Regions from separate parts of the Homo sapiens genome. Here region 2 is linked to region 1. The links are contacts of gene promoters, found by promoter capture Hi-C in blood cells and fetal thymus (Javierre and others, 2016). All regions are on one chromosome and are shown on one strand. Each heading gives the region's core, a stretch centred on a gene start or on the middle of the fragment in contact. The rest is flanking DNA. Distances are from core to core; before and after follow the strand shown.

Region 1 (7,220 bases), core at 2,129-4,628:
GATTACAAGCATGGGCCACCATGCCCGGCTAATTATTGTATTTTTTAGTAGAGATGGGGTTTCACCATGTTGGTCAGGCTGGTCTCGAACTCCTGGCCTCAAGTGATCTGCTCACCTTGGCCTCCTAAACTGCTGGGATTACAGGGTTGAGCCACCGCGCCTGGCCCAGAGATGTTTGGATACAGGCATGCAATGTGAAATAAGCATATCAGGGAGATTGGAGTATCCATCCGCTCGAGAATTTATCCTTGATTTACAAGTAATCCAATTACATTCTCTTTTTTTTTTTTTTTTTTGAGATGGAATTTCGCTCTTGTTGCCCAGGCTGGAGTGCAATGGCGTGATCTCGGCTCACCACAACCTCCGCCTTTCGGTTTCAAGCGATTCTCCTGCCTCAGCCTCCTGAGTAGCTGGGATTACAGGCATGCAGCCACTATGCCCAGCTAATTTTGTATTTTTAGTAGAGACGGGGTTTTTCCATGTTGGTCAGGCTGGTCTTGAATTCCTGACCTCAGGTGATCAGTACGCCTCGGCCTCCCAAAGTGCTGGGATTACAGGCATGAGCCACTGCGCCCGGCCGACTAGTTTTAAAAAAATTTTGTTAGCAGTGTGAACTCATAGATGTTAACATATGCAGTGTATTTCAGTCTATTGAAATTTTTCATTTTTATGCTCAAATCATCCCATCTTTGGCAAGTAGGAGCCAGTTTGGTTCCTCAGTCATTCTAAATGACCGTAGTACCCTGGTATTCTTTTATTTATTTATTTACTTATATATTTAAGTTTTGCATTTTGATATAAGATGTCCCAGACTCACAGAAAGGCCTTTTGAGATAGCAAGACAAATTTGGCGGATTTAATTTCAGCCAAAGGAAGAGAATAATGTCAGCTTTTCTTTCCTCACCCCCAGAAATTTGATAGAAACCAGGACAATTGTGAAGGCAGTTTTCTCACTGAAAAGAAGTGCACGTTGGTGGTGAGACAGTTAAATAAGGATTCTAACCTGTGGACTACATTTGTTGTCATTAGAGGGGGTATATACAGTATTTATTCAAAGACGCTCAAGCCTGTAATCCCAGCCCTTTGGGAGGCCGAGGCGGGAGGACTGCTTGAGCCCAGGAGTTTGAAATCAAACTGGGTCAAACAGTGAGACCTCATCTCTAGAAAAAAATTTAAAAACGGGGTGGGAAGATCGCTTGAGCCCAAGGGGTTGTGGCTGCAATGAGCCATAACTGAGCAATTGCACCTGGGTGACAGCGAGACTGTGCCTAAAAAAAAAAAAAAATTGAAAGACAATTCTAACATCCAATTCTAACATCTAATTCTAACATCTGTAAGCGTATCTGTCCCAAACACAGAGCTAAAGTAAAAACACAGGAAGGGGCCGGGCGCAGTGGCTCATGCCTGTAATCCCAACACTTTGGGAGGCCAAGGCGGGTGGATCACCTGAGGTCAGGAGTTTGAGACCAGTCTGACCAACATGGTGAAACCCCATCTCTACTAAAAATATAAAATTAGTCGGGCGTGGTGGCGCATGCCTGTAATCCCAGCTACTTGGGAGGCTGAGATAGGAGAATTGCTTGAACCCGGGGAGGTGGAGATTGCAGTGAGCCAAGATCGCGCCATTGCACTCCAGCCTGGGCAACAAGAGCGAAACTCTTGTCTCAAAAAATAAAAAAATCAAACAAACACACATACAGGAAAGGAAAGGAGATAATAAAAAGGAAGGAGTAGTAACCACAGGGCATCCATGTTGGAGTATCCAGATCAGCTTCCTTTTCATTAGTCATAAATCCTTTTGGTGCTCTGTCCTGTTGGCTTTTCATGCACCTTCAAATCATGTATGGGGGTATGAGAAAGATAGTTTAAAAAGGAAAGGTTTGTTGTTCCACTGTTAGGGGTGAGGGAGGTACTTAGCGAAATGATGACTAGTAATAAGCTCTAGAACTGTGGGCTCTTTTATCCATGTCCATTGTTTCATATTCTTCTGGACCCACAAGATGGCACTTGAGGATCTACAACAGCAAAACCATACCAACGTATTTAGAATAAAAGAATCATCCACAGGGACAGATTAATGATGCATCTTTCTGGCCTAACAGTGTCTTTTTGATGGGCATAGAGATAAGGGGACTATGGCCACACCATCAGAATTGTATTATTCAATTAATAATGCCTACCACTTTGAAATGCTTCCTGTGCCCCAGGACACTGTGCTCATCACTTTACATCTCATTTCATCTATAAGACTCTATATAACGTCATTTCCACTTTACAGCTGAAGAAACTTAACTTTAAGTTACATAACCTGCTGACTGTGAACTATCACATGTGCTGAAGTTGGGATTCACCAAGCGGCCAAAAAGCACAGGTTCCCCTTACCATTGCTATGTTAACCAATAGACTGATGTATTTTAAATCAGTTTCTATTTTTTCAACCTCATAAGTTTGAAAAGCTGCACTCTGCACTGATTTAGCACTGACTGGTGGCTGCTTAAAGCTTGCCTTATTCCATTTTAGCAGGCCCCCCGGCAAAATACCCCAATTAGTGGTGTCATCCTCTCTATTCCAAGAATTTTCTCTTAAGACTCCCGCTCTGTGCGTTTGCTTGGGAATGCAGAGCCCTGTTCCTCATCTCCCCATCTATGCTTTCTTCATTCTAAGCCCTTTCCTATCTACTTTATGCTCGAGGTGGCTCCACCTCCACCATGAGCCAGAGCCAATGATGCTCACGGCCCCAACCATGATTAAAAAGAGATTGCCCTGCAAGGTAAATCAGTTAAAACCAACCTCTCCTGCCCTGAGTGGATAGGTAGGGTTAGGGTTGCCAGATGTCACGAAGTTACAGGATGCTCAGTTTTAAGGTATATCCCTTATACTATAAGGGTTATAGTAAAAAATATTCATTATGTGAAATTCAAATATAACTGGGTATCAGGTATTCTATGTGGCAACCCTAGGTAGGGGAGCACAGGTTAGGCAAGCGATTAGAAGATTTGCAGCCTCCAAAGTTTCTGCACCTCGATGGGACACTAGAACAGGAAGGCTCCTGGGCCTTTCTGGCTCTGGGAATGAAGCGTGGAAAACCCTCCTTAGGCGGGCGCAGTGCTTCAAGTAGCCAAGCTCTGACTTCCGAGGGAAGAAAGGAGGCCATGGGCCTCTGCCAGAGCCATGCTCTGCACTCTGGGGTCAGCAGAGTTCAAAACGACCTGCAACGTCTGGCGCTTAGCTCCTAAAGAGGTCTCCAGTCCAGCGCCGACGGCCAGCGGCTAGAGGCCGTCCGCCCGACTCCAAGATGGCGCCCGCCACAGCTGCCAGGTGTTAAGATGGCGGCGCGGGGCCGCGCCCGCGCTCCCAGGCTCTCCTCCCCCAGCCTTCCTCCGGCTGGCAGCACGACTCGCGTAGCCGTGCGCCGATTGCCTCTCGGCCTGGGCAATGGTCCCGGCTGCCGGTCGACGACCGCCCCGCGTCATGCGGCTCCTCGGCTGGTGGCAAGTATTGCTGTGGGTGCTGGGACTTCCCGTCCGCGGCGTGGAGGGTGAGTGTGGGCCGGGGGCGGTGCATGAGATGATGGGGCGAGCTGAGGTCCACCCGGGCGACGCTCTGGACCTGCGCGAAGGCCGGCGGTGCGCGACTCGCCCCTTCTTGGCGTCTCCCCGGGCGCGTCTCCCCGACTTCTCTCCCCGCGCACCGCCCGCTGGTGGCCCGCGAAAGGGGGCCGGTGGGCTGAGGGCCGGTGGACGGGAGCCCGGGGGTGGTTGGGCCGCGTTCAGGCCGCCCTCAGCCCGTGGCTGGTAGCCAGGAGGGACAGTGCGGTAAGCGCTGCTGAGGCATACCCTCTGGTGATAAGCAATTTATTATTAATAACATTATATCAAATACCGACATTGTTGTGGCCGTATTAGGAGCCAGGAACTGTGCATCGTGCTTTATTTACATCATTATCCCATTTAATGCTCCCACAAACCCTGTCAGATCGGTTCCGTTTAGTGTCTCCATTTCACAGATGAAGATGCTCAGGCCCCGCCTAAGTTTGCGCTTCTGATACGTGGCAGAAGCCTGTCTCTCTGACGCCAAAGCCCAGTCTGGAGTCCACGCTGCTGGACCACTGTCTTAAGGAGGCCAGTCTTGCTCAGCTCCCTGCATGAAAAACAGACGAGAAACACGGGAGACTCCCGGTAACCCCCAACTTGCCGGTAGGGAAGGCAGCCACTCTAGAGGCATGGCGAGGGTGGAGAGTGGAGGCCTTACTTTCATGCTCCTTCACCCCACTCCTCATAGTCCTGTTAAAGTCCAGACCCTCGGTCTCGCTTGTCATTTAGACCTTAACAGGAATAGGCAGGTCTTTCTTTTCCCTGGGGTGTCCTGGATGGAGGCAGGACAGCAGAGAGTTGTGGAGAAGGGTGAGTCATAGTAACACAATTACCATGAATGAAAGCGCTCACTGTGTACCAGATGCTGTGCTCAGTGCTTTACGAGCATCATCTTTTGGAATCTTTACTGTTTTGTTTTTGTTTTTTTAAGGGATGAGGGCTTGCTCTGTTGCCCAGGCGGGAGTGCAGTGGCCCATCATGGCTCCCTGCAGCCTTGAACTCCTGGGCTTAAGTGATCCTCCCACCTGTTTCCCAAAGTGCTGGGATTACAGATGTGAGCCACTGCTCCCGGTTTATGTAATTTTTATTTTTATTTTTTTTTGAGATGGAGTCTCGCTCTGTTGCCCAGGCTGGAGTGCAGTGGCGCGATCTTGGCTCACTGCAACCTCTGACTCCCGGGTTCAAGCGATTCTCGTGCCTCAGCCTCCTGAGTAGCTGGGATTACAGGTGCCTGCCACCACACTGGGCTAATTTTTGTATTTTTAGTAGAGATGATGGTCCACCATGTTGGCCACGCTGGTCTGGAACTCCTGACCTCAGGTGATCCACCCACCTCGGCCTCCCAGAGTGCTGGGATTACAGGCTTGAGCCACCGTGCCTGGCCTTAGTAATTTTTAAATGCATATGCAGTAGATGTTATCATGCTCATTTTATAGAAGTAACTTAAGACTCAGAGCCAATAAGTCCTTTGACAAGGTCATACAGCCAGAAGTTGAGGAGCCTTGATTCAAGCCCATGTCTGCCTGACTTCAGAGCCCAACCTCTGCATTTTCACTATACTTAACTGCTAGCCTCACAGAGGGGATGGCATGGGTTGGATATCTTCTGTTTCAGCCCCTCCACCGTGCTCTGTGCCCTGTGTGGCTGTCCTGTGTGGAATAAATACCAGCTGTCCTACCGTCTTGCTTCCATTGTGTTGGAATGAGGGGAGAGTGAGGTCAGGGTATTGATTCTCTCCGCTCCCTCCCTGAGAAGTTATTGAAGGCTGGCTTTGCCCCCGGTGGAAAGCATTGAATTCTAGAAAGCTGCCCTCTGTGTTACCCTTGATGTTTCAAGGTTCTGTGACTACTTCTCTCTCCAGACTCTTAAGGTCTATGAGTGGTAACTGGCTCCTCCTCTACTGTTACTGGCCTTGGAATTCCTTACCATTGCTTTTCATTTCTCTGCACCCAGCCTACACATTAGTGGTCCCTTCATTAAACTCTCCTCAACTTGCCCAAGTTAAATGTGCTGTTTCCTGGCAGAACCCTGGCTGATTCAGGGTTCAGCTTGGGTCTTTGGTCATCATGGCCAGGCCATGAATGGGGTGAAGACAGAAGAAACTTCACCAGCTGATTTCTTCTCAGAGTAGCTGAAAATCTGAGGTGTTTTTTTTTTTTTTTTTTCTGCAGAGGATGCCACTGGCAGATTATGCTGGCCTCAGGTGCTGAGGCCCTGAGAGACTAAGCAACCTGGAGGTAGCAATGCTATCCAGGTGTCTAGGAATGGAAGCAAACTCCTGGCTTCAATACCCCTATGCCACTCTTCCCTAGGCAGTCAGCTAGCAAATTCTTACTGAGCACTCATCATATGCTAAACACTGTGCTGAGCACTGGGGATCCAGTGGTGAGTTAGAGCAGCAGGCCTTTGGGGAAGGCAGCCACTAAATAACTACAAATTACTAAGAAAATTGCAAGACTGAGAAATGCATCAAGGAGAGTCCCAGGGCGTTTTTGGGAACTGTAATGGGAGACCTCCCACCCTGGTCTGAGGGTCAGGGAATGTGTCCTTACAGAGGTGACATTTAGGGTGAGATCTGAATGAGGAGGATGAAGGATTTGGCAGGAGGAAGCTTCCCAGCAGAGAAACAGCCCTCAGGAAGGCTCTAAGGCAGGTGGGGATAGGAGGAGTGTAAATGATCAGGGACTAGAGGGATCTGATGGCCACAGGTGAGAGTGCAGACAGAGGCCACATTGGGGCCTGGTAGCTCTGCTACAGAATGCAGATGCATTCACAGGGTAGGGGAAGCCACTGAAAGAGTTTTAGCAGGGGAGTGACATGATCAGATATGCCTTTTATCTTTCAGTTTCACTTGTATTGCTGTGAAGGTCAGGGTCTGGAGGGGGGATAGCAGGCTGACCAGGGAGACCAGTTTAGGTGGCTACAGTAGTTGCCCAGACAAGAATTGGCTGTGGCCTTTGCTGAGAAGTGTTAGTTGGGATGGGGAAAGTAGATGGATTGTGAATGTGTTTAGCAGGTGAAATTTTTTTTTTTCTTTTTGAGAAGGAGTCTTGCTCTTGTCACCCAGGCTGGAGTGCAGTGGCACCATCTTGGCTCACTGCAACCTCCACCTCCTGGGTTCAAATGATTCTCCTGCCTCAGCCTCCCGAGTAGCTGGGATTACAGGCATGCGCCACCATGCCTGGCTAATTTTTTTTTTTTTTTTTGAGATGGAGTTTTGCTCTTGTTGCTCAGGCTGGAGCAATGGTGCGATCTTGGCTCATTGCAACCTCTGCCTCCCGGGTTCAAGCGATTCTCTTGTCTCAGCTTCCTGAGTAGCTGGGATTACAGGCACCCGTCACTACACCCCGGCTAATTTTTGGTATTTTTAGTAGAGATGGGGTTTCGCCATGTTGGCCAGGCTGGTCTCGAACTCCTGACCTCAGGTGATCTGCCCGCCTTGACCTCCCAAAGTGCTGGGATTACAGGCGTGAGCCACTGCGCCTGGCCTAATTTTTGTATTTTTTAGTAGAGATGGGGTTTCACCATGTTGGCCAGGCTGGTCTTGAATTCCTGACCTCAAGTAATCTGCCTGCCTTGGCCTCCCAAAGTGTTAGGATTACAGGTATGAACCAGCAAGCCCAGTGT
Region 2 (6,165 bases), core at 3,329-5,828, 1.8 Mb before region 1:
GTAGTCTCAGTTACTCAGGAGGCTGTGGTGGGAGAATCATTTGAGCCAGGAGTTCAAGGCTGCAACGAGATATGATCATACAACTACACGCTAGCCTGTCTGACAAAGCAAAAGCCTGTCTTTAAAAAAAAAAAAAAAAAAGAGCTATTAGAACTAATAAATTAGTAAGGTCAGAGGACATAAGATCATTAGACACAAGACTACCAGCAACAACTGAAACTAAAAATTTTTTTTTTTTTGAGACGGAGTCTCACTCTGTCACCCAGGCTGGAGTGCAGTGGTGCAATATTGGCTCACTGCAAGCTCCATCTCCCGGGTTCATGCCATTCTCCTGCCTCAGCCTCCCGAGTAGCTGGGACTACAAGCGCCCGCCACCATGCCCGGCTAATTTTTTGTATTTATTATTTTTTTTTTCTGAGACAAGTCTCGCTCTGTCGCCCAGGCTGGAGTGCAGTGGTGCAATCTCGGCTTACTGCAAGCTCTGCCTCTCGGCTTCACGCTATTCTCCTGCCTCAGCCTACTGAGTAGCTGGGACTACAGGCACCCGCCACCATGCCCGGCTAATTTTTTGTATTTTTAGTAGAGATGGGGTTTCACTGTGTTAGCCAGGATAGTCTTGATCTTTTGACCTCGTGATCCGCCCGCCTCGGCCTCCCAAAGTGCTGGATTACAGGCGTGAGCCACCGCGCACGGCCTAATTTTTGTATTTTTAGTAGAGACAGGGTTTCACCGTGTTAGCCAGGATGGTCTCGATCTCCTGACCTTGTGATCCGCCCACCTCAGCCTCCCAAAGTGCTGGGATTACAGGCGTGAGCTACTGCGCCCAGCCTTTTGAAACTAAAATTTTTAAAAAACACTATTACAATACTTAGGGACAAATCTGACAAAAGATGTGCAAGACCTCTGAAAACTACAAAACACTGCTAAGAGAAATTAAAGATGACCTAAATAAATGGCGAGATATACATAAGCACGGATCAGAAAACTCAATACTGTTAGGATGTCAATTCTCCATAGGTTGATCTGTACACTCAATGCAATCCCAGCTGAAATCGCAGCAGCTTTTGGTAAGCTAATTTAAAATTTATCTGGAAATACAATCTAAAATAGTCAAAATAACTCTGAAAAAGAGCAAAATCAGAGGACTAACACGTGGATTCAAGACTTATTATGAAGCTACAGTAATCATGACACTACCATAGACTTTATAAATACTGTACATTAGGCTGCCCTAAATTTATAATTTTTTTAAATTTCAATAATAAATTAATCTTAGCTTACTACAATTTTACTTTATAACTTTTTTTTTTTTGAAACAGAGTCTTGCTCTGTCACCCAGGCTGGAGTGCAATGGTGTGATCTCGGCTCACTGCAACCTCCGCCTCCCAGGTTATAGTGATTCTCCTGCCTCAGCCTCCCAAGTAGCTGGAATTACAGGTGCCCGCCACGACACCTGGCTAATTTTTTGTATTTTTAGTAGATATGGGGTTTCACCATGTTGATCAAGCTGGTCTTGAACTCTGGACCTCAGGTCATCCACCCACCATGGGCCACCCAAAGTGCTGGGATTACAGGCATGAGCCACCGCACCCGGCCTACTTTATAACTTATAAATGTTTAAAACTTTTTGACTCTTTTGTAATAACCATTAACACACAAACACATTTATAGCTGTACAAAAATTTTTTCTTTCTTTATATCTTCATTCTATAAGCTGTTTTCTATTAAAATTTATTTTTCTTTTTAAACTTTTTTGTAAAAAACTAAGACACACACACATTAGCCTAGGTCTACACAGGGTCAGGATCATCAAGATGTCACTAGGCAACAGAAATTTTTTTAGCTCCATTATAATCTTATGGGACAACCATAGAATTAATATATGGGATCTGTTATGTGGTGCATGACAATATAGAGAGAGATCCAGTTATGGCCTGCATGGTTTGGTATTGTTCAACTTTTTTTTTTTTTTTGAGACAGACTCTCGGTCTGTCGCCAGGCTGGACTGCAGTGGCGAGATCTCGGCTCACTGCAACCTCCGTCTCCCGGGTTCAAGCAATTCTCCTGCCTAGCCTCCCGAGTAGTTGGGACTACAGGCGCATGCCACCACATCCAGCTAATTTTTGTAATTTTTGTAGAGATGGGGTTTCAACATGTTGGCCAGGATGGTCTCGATCTCTTGACCTTGTGATCCACCTGCCTCAGCCTCCCAAAGTGCTGGGATTACAGGCATGAGCCACCACGCCCCGGCCTTGTTCAACATTTTTATAAATGCCTTGTATGAGGACACAAATGTACATATTTATCAAACCTGCAGTTGACACAAAGCTGAGAGGGATACCTAATAACGATGGATGGCTGAATCAGGATCCAAAAGGTCTTGACAGGCTGCAACTCTGTGTCGAATCTAACAAGATGAAATTTAACAAGGACAAAGGTAAGTCTGACACTTAAGTCCAGAAAATCAATACAAGGCAGGGGAGGTCTGACTTGATGACAATTCAGGTAGAAAACAAGGTTTTTTAACTGACTGAAATCATAGCAAGGTTCAAAAACAAGGGAGTAAGAAAGAAATGGGGTTTAACTTTATAAATATTATTGTTTTTCAGCTCAACATAAACTTTTAGATAGATTTGAAAACACAACAGGCCACTTCAGGAGGTAAGTACACATTACTGGAAGTCTTCAAGCCAAGTTTGATGACGACTCTGGATGTTGAAGAAGGAGTAGTGGAATCTCATATAAGGTTTAATAGAAGAAATGACCCCAAATAATGCCTAGACTCCATAATTTACTTAATATAGGTAGATGTAAGTACAGTTTACAAGGTAAAAATAATTAAATCAATTATTTCATTCCAATTGATTTAGTAGACTGACTAGTTAAGTCTCCGAAAGATCTACTGAATGAGGAGTTCGTATTTAGACTTTTTTCCCCGTCTTCTTCTATTAGTCCAAAGACCTTTTTTTTTTTTTTTTTTTAAAGAACGATAAAGCCAGGTGCGGTGGCTCACACCTGTAATCCCAGCACTTTGGGAGGCTGAAGTGGGCAGATTACCTGAGGTCAGAAGTTCGAGACCAGCCTGACCAACATGGAGAAACCCCGTCTCTACTAAAAATACAAAATTAGCCAGGCGGGTAGCACATGCCTGTAATCCCAGCTAAAGGAGGCTGAGGCAGGAGAATCACTTGAACCTGGGAGGTGGAGGTTGCGGTGAGCCAAGATCATGCCACTGCACTCCAGCCTGGGCAACAAGAGCAAAACTCCATCTCAAAAAAAAAAAATTGATGATAGTGCTTTCTCATTTCTCATTACTAACTTAAAAACTATTTTAAATTTGTTGTTATGTAAGTAATATATGCTCCTTGTAAATAAAATTAAACCTTTTTGATGAATATAAAATGAAAAGTAAAGGCTCCTCTCCTGCTTTCCCCCCAAATTCTCTTGGACTTCGCAAGCCTCTAAAGGCCCTCCTTTGCTGAATCCCTTGGAGACTTACACTCTGTATACCACAACACTTTTTATAATATGCCACATGTTTGCTTCCCAACAAGACCAGAAGCTCCTTAAAGGTAAGATTTGTCTTTTACAAATCATGTAACTCATGTACCAAATACAGACATATTGTAGATATAAAAATTTGTTTAACTTTTGATACTTCTGAAACAAGAAATAGCAGTATTATTCAGATGCTAAGTCTTATTTTCACTTCATATTTAAAGTGGACATTGGTTTTGCCAATCCTGCATTCATTTAACTCCTCTGACCTATCCACCCTGGTTATCATTGGCTTATGGTCATCCATTCAATTGTACTGAAAGGAGAATAAGATCTCTAAATCAATCAGAGCTTCACAATCCCACAGGCATGGTTTAGCACTGGGCATGTAATCCAATCTAGACCAAAGAACTGCAATCAACTTGAAGCTGAGAGAATAGATAGGACCCTGGATACTGCAGCCATCTTGGGAGCAAAGAATAGAGCCTATCCAAATATGGAGCCAACAACGAAAGAGCAAGCATGAGAGACAGACAGGGAGAAATGGGATCCTGGTGACATCATTTAGCACTCCCTTTAAGTATCACCATCCCATTTTTGATCTCAGAATTGTCTGACTTAATGGTGGGCGCAGTGGCTCATGCCTGTAATCCCAGTACTTTGGGAAGCTAAGGTGGGCAGATCACTTGACATCAGGAGTTCGAGACCAGCCTGACCAACATGGTGAAACCCCGTCTCTACTAAAAAATACAAAAATTAGCAGGGCATGGTGGCGGACGCCTGTAGTCCCAGCTAGTCGGGAGGCTGAGGCAGGAGAATCATTTGAACCAGGGAGGCAGAGGTTGCAGTGAGCCAAGATCGCACCACTGCATTCCAGCCTGGGCAACAGAGTGAGACTCCGTCTAAAAAAAAAACAAAAAAAACCTGTCTGACTTCGAGCCTTCTTCCTTCACCAAGCTTACTACTCTAACTCCCTAAGTCTGTCTGTACATTTGAGGAACTCTTCTTATCAGGCCTGAAAGGGTAGATGGAAAGGAGAAGAAAAAGGGATTATTTGAATTAAAAAATATAAAAAGATATACAGATAAACACACATACATATACTAGCAGACTCTGAGCTACATATAGACATGAAAATGGAGATGGCATGAAATATTTATGAAAAAGAGGCAGATGTCTGGATGTGCAAAGGCTGTTGGAAAAAAAAGCTTTATAAGAAAGGGGTTGCCGCGCGCGGTAGCTCACGCCTGTAATCCCAGCACTTTGGGAGGCCAAGGCGGGCGGATCTCGAGGTCAGGGGATCGAGACCATCCTGGCTAACACGGTGAAACCCCATCTCTACTAAAAATACAAAAAACCAGCCGGGCATGGTGGCGGGCGCCTGTAGTCCCAGCTACTCGGGAGGCTGAGGCAGGGGAACGGCGTGAACCCGGGGGGCGGAGCTTGCAGTGAGCCAAGATTGCACCTCTGCACTCCAGCCTGGGAGACAGAGCAAGACTCCGCCTCAAAAAAAAAAAAAAAAAAAAAAAAAAAAAAGAAAGGGGCATCTGGGGTGACCCTTGCATTATTTGTCAGCTATGAATCTCTTCTGCCACTCTCTCTTGTTCATTAGGCGTAATGGCTATCTTTCAGTTCTGTAAAAAGTAAGTTTCAGGCTCAAAGCAATTATGCCACTATCCGGATGCTCTTTCTCAAAATCCTCGTATGACTGTTCCTTTTTCATCCTTTAAATCTCTGTTCAAATTCCACCTCTTCAGAGATGCCTTTCCAGTCCAACCAACCTAAAGTGGGCCTTTCCCTCTTTCCATCACAACAGCTTACTTCCTTCAAAGCTGTTATCACCAGCTGTATTTACAATTTGTGGTTTATCGACTGTTTCCATCACTAGAATGTAAGCTCTCTGAAAGCAAGGATTTTGTCTTGAACACCTCTATTTATACCCAATGTCTGGCACAGAACGGTAGGAACTAAATAAATTAATATTTATTGAAAGAGAGAATGAGTAGCAAAAGGTGGTAAGATAGCCTGGGAAAGCAATCGGCATTGAAGGCAGGGTGTTCCTAAGGAAGGCGCTAGAATAAGGAAGTAGGAAAAGGCAGCTGGGCTGGACACTGAATAGGAAACTGAAGGTTTACGTCGGCTGGAATAAAGGTGTCGGACCGGGGCTTCAGGGCTCCCCTGTCCACGCGTGGGGTTGGCGGAGGGGCATAAATCACTGAGTGACCAACTGTGGGCGTTCCTTTCAGAGAAACCAAACGCGACAGTTGTCTTCAAACCCCGCTCTGTCCCGTGCCGCAGACTTTACGCGGCTGTCTTCCGCGAAATCGCTAACCCCCGGTCACCAGACTTATCGCCCGGGCCCGAGCCCCCCGGGAGCCAGAAGAGTGTTTGAGAAACGGACATTCTCCGCCGGTCCCAATAGGGGTCCGACACCAGCCCGTTGACGCGCGTTTCCCCGCTCCCAGCCCTCCAGTGGACCCGAACCGGATCCTTACTTACGCTTGTCTCCGGGCTATTAGCCGATGCATGGGAGTCGCCATCTTAGCGCGGTCAAAGCCGGCCGCGCAGGGTTTTGGGAAACTCCTCGGAAGGGCGGGGCTTCCAACCGGGAGGCCGTAGACGTAGGCGGGGCCAGACAGGCTTCTAAGGGGAGGTATCTTAGTGCCG

Evidence for each region. Contacts are between HindIII fragments. The CHiCAGO score rates a contact against its expected background, and 5 or more counts as called.
Region 2: a fragment that was not itself captured here is called in contact with the fragment with the promoter of TXNDC15 in region 1 in 1 of 17 cell types (total CD8 T cells); the score reaches 6.0 in total CD8 T cells.

What each region holds. Positions count from the first base shown.
Region 1 is chr5:134,870,993-134,878,212 of GRCh38, forward strand. TXNDC15 (thioredoxin domain containing 15) reads left to right here and starts at 3,379. Exons shown (of 5, transcript NM_024715.4): 1 at 3,379-3,538. The coding sequence starts at 3,436. LOC124901071 (a long non-coding RNA gene) reads right to left here and starts at 4,406. Exons shown (of 2, transcript XR_007058943.1): 1 at 4,252-4,406; 2 at 3,839-4,140. RefSeq lists enhancers at 3,055-3,104, 3,125-3,414, 3,346-4,051, 3,945-4,014, 6,425-6,484 and a silencer at 3,655-3,764. The HindIII fragment of the contact is 3,704 bases long and covers 2,499-6,202 here.
Region 2 is chr5:133,020,500-133,026,664 of GRCh38, forward strand. ZCCHC10 (zinc finger CCHC-type containing 10) reads right to left here and starts at 6,050. Exons shown (of 5, transcript NM_001300816.3): 1 at 5,998-6,050; 2 at 2,342-2,407. The coding sequence starts at 6,038. RefSeq lists an enhancer at 5,810-6,119. The HindIII fragment of the contact is 251 bases long and covers 4,454-4,704 here.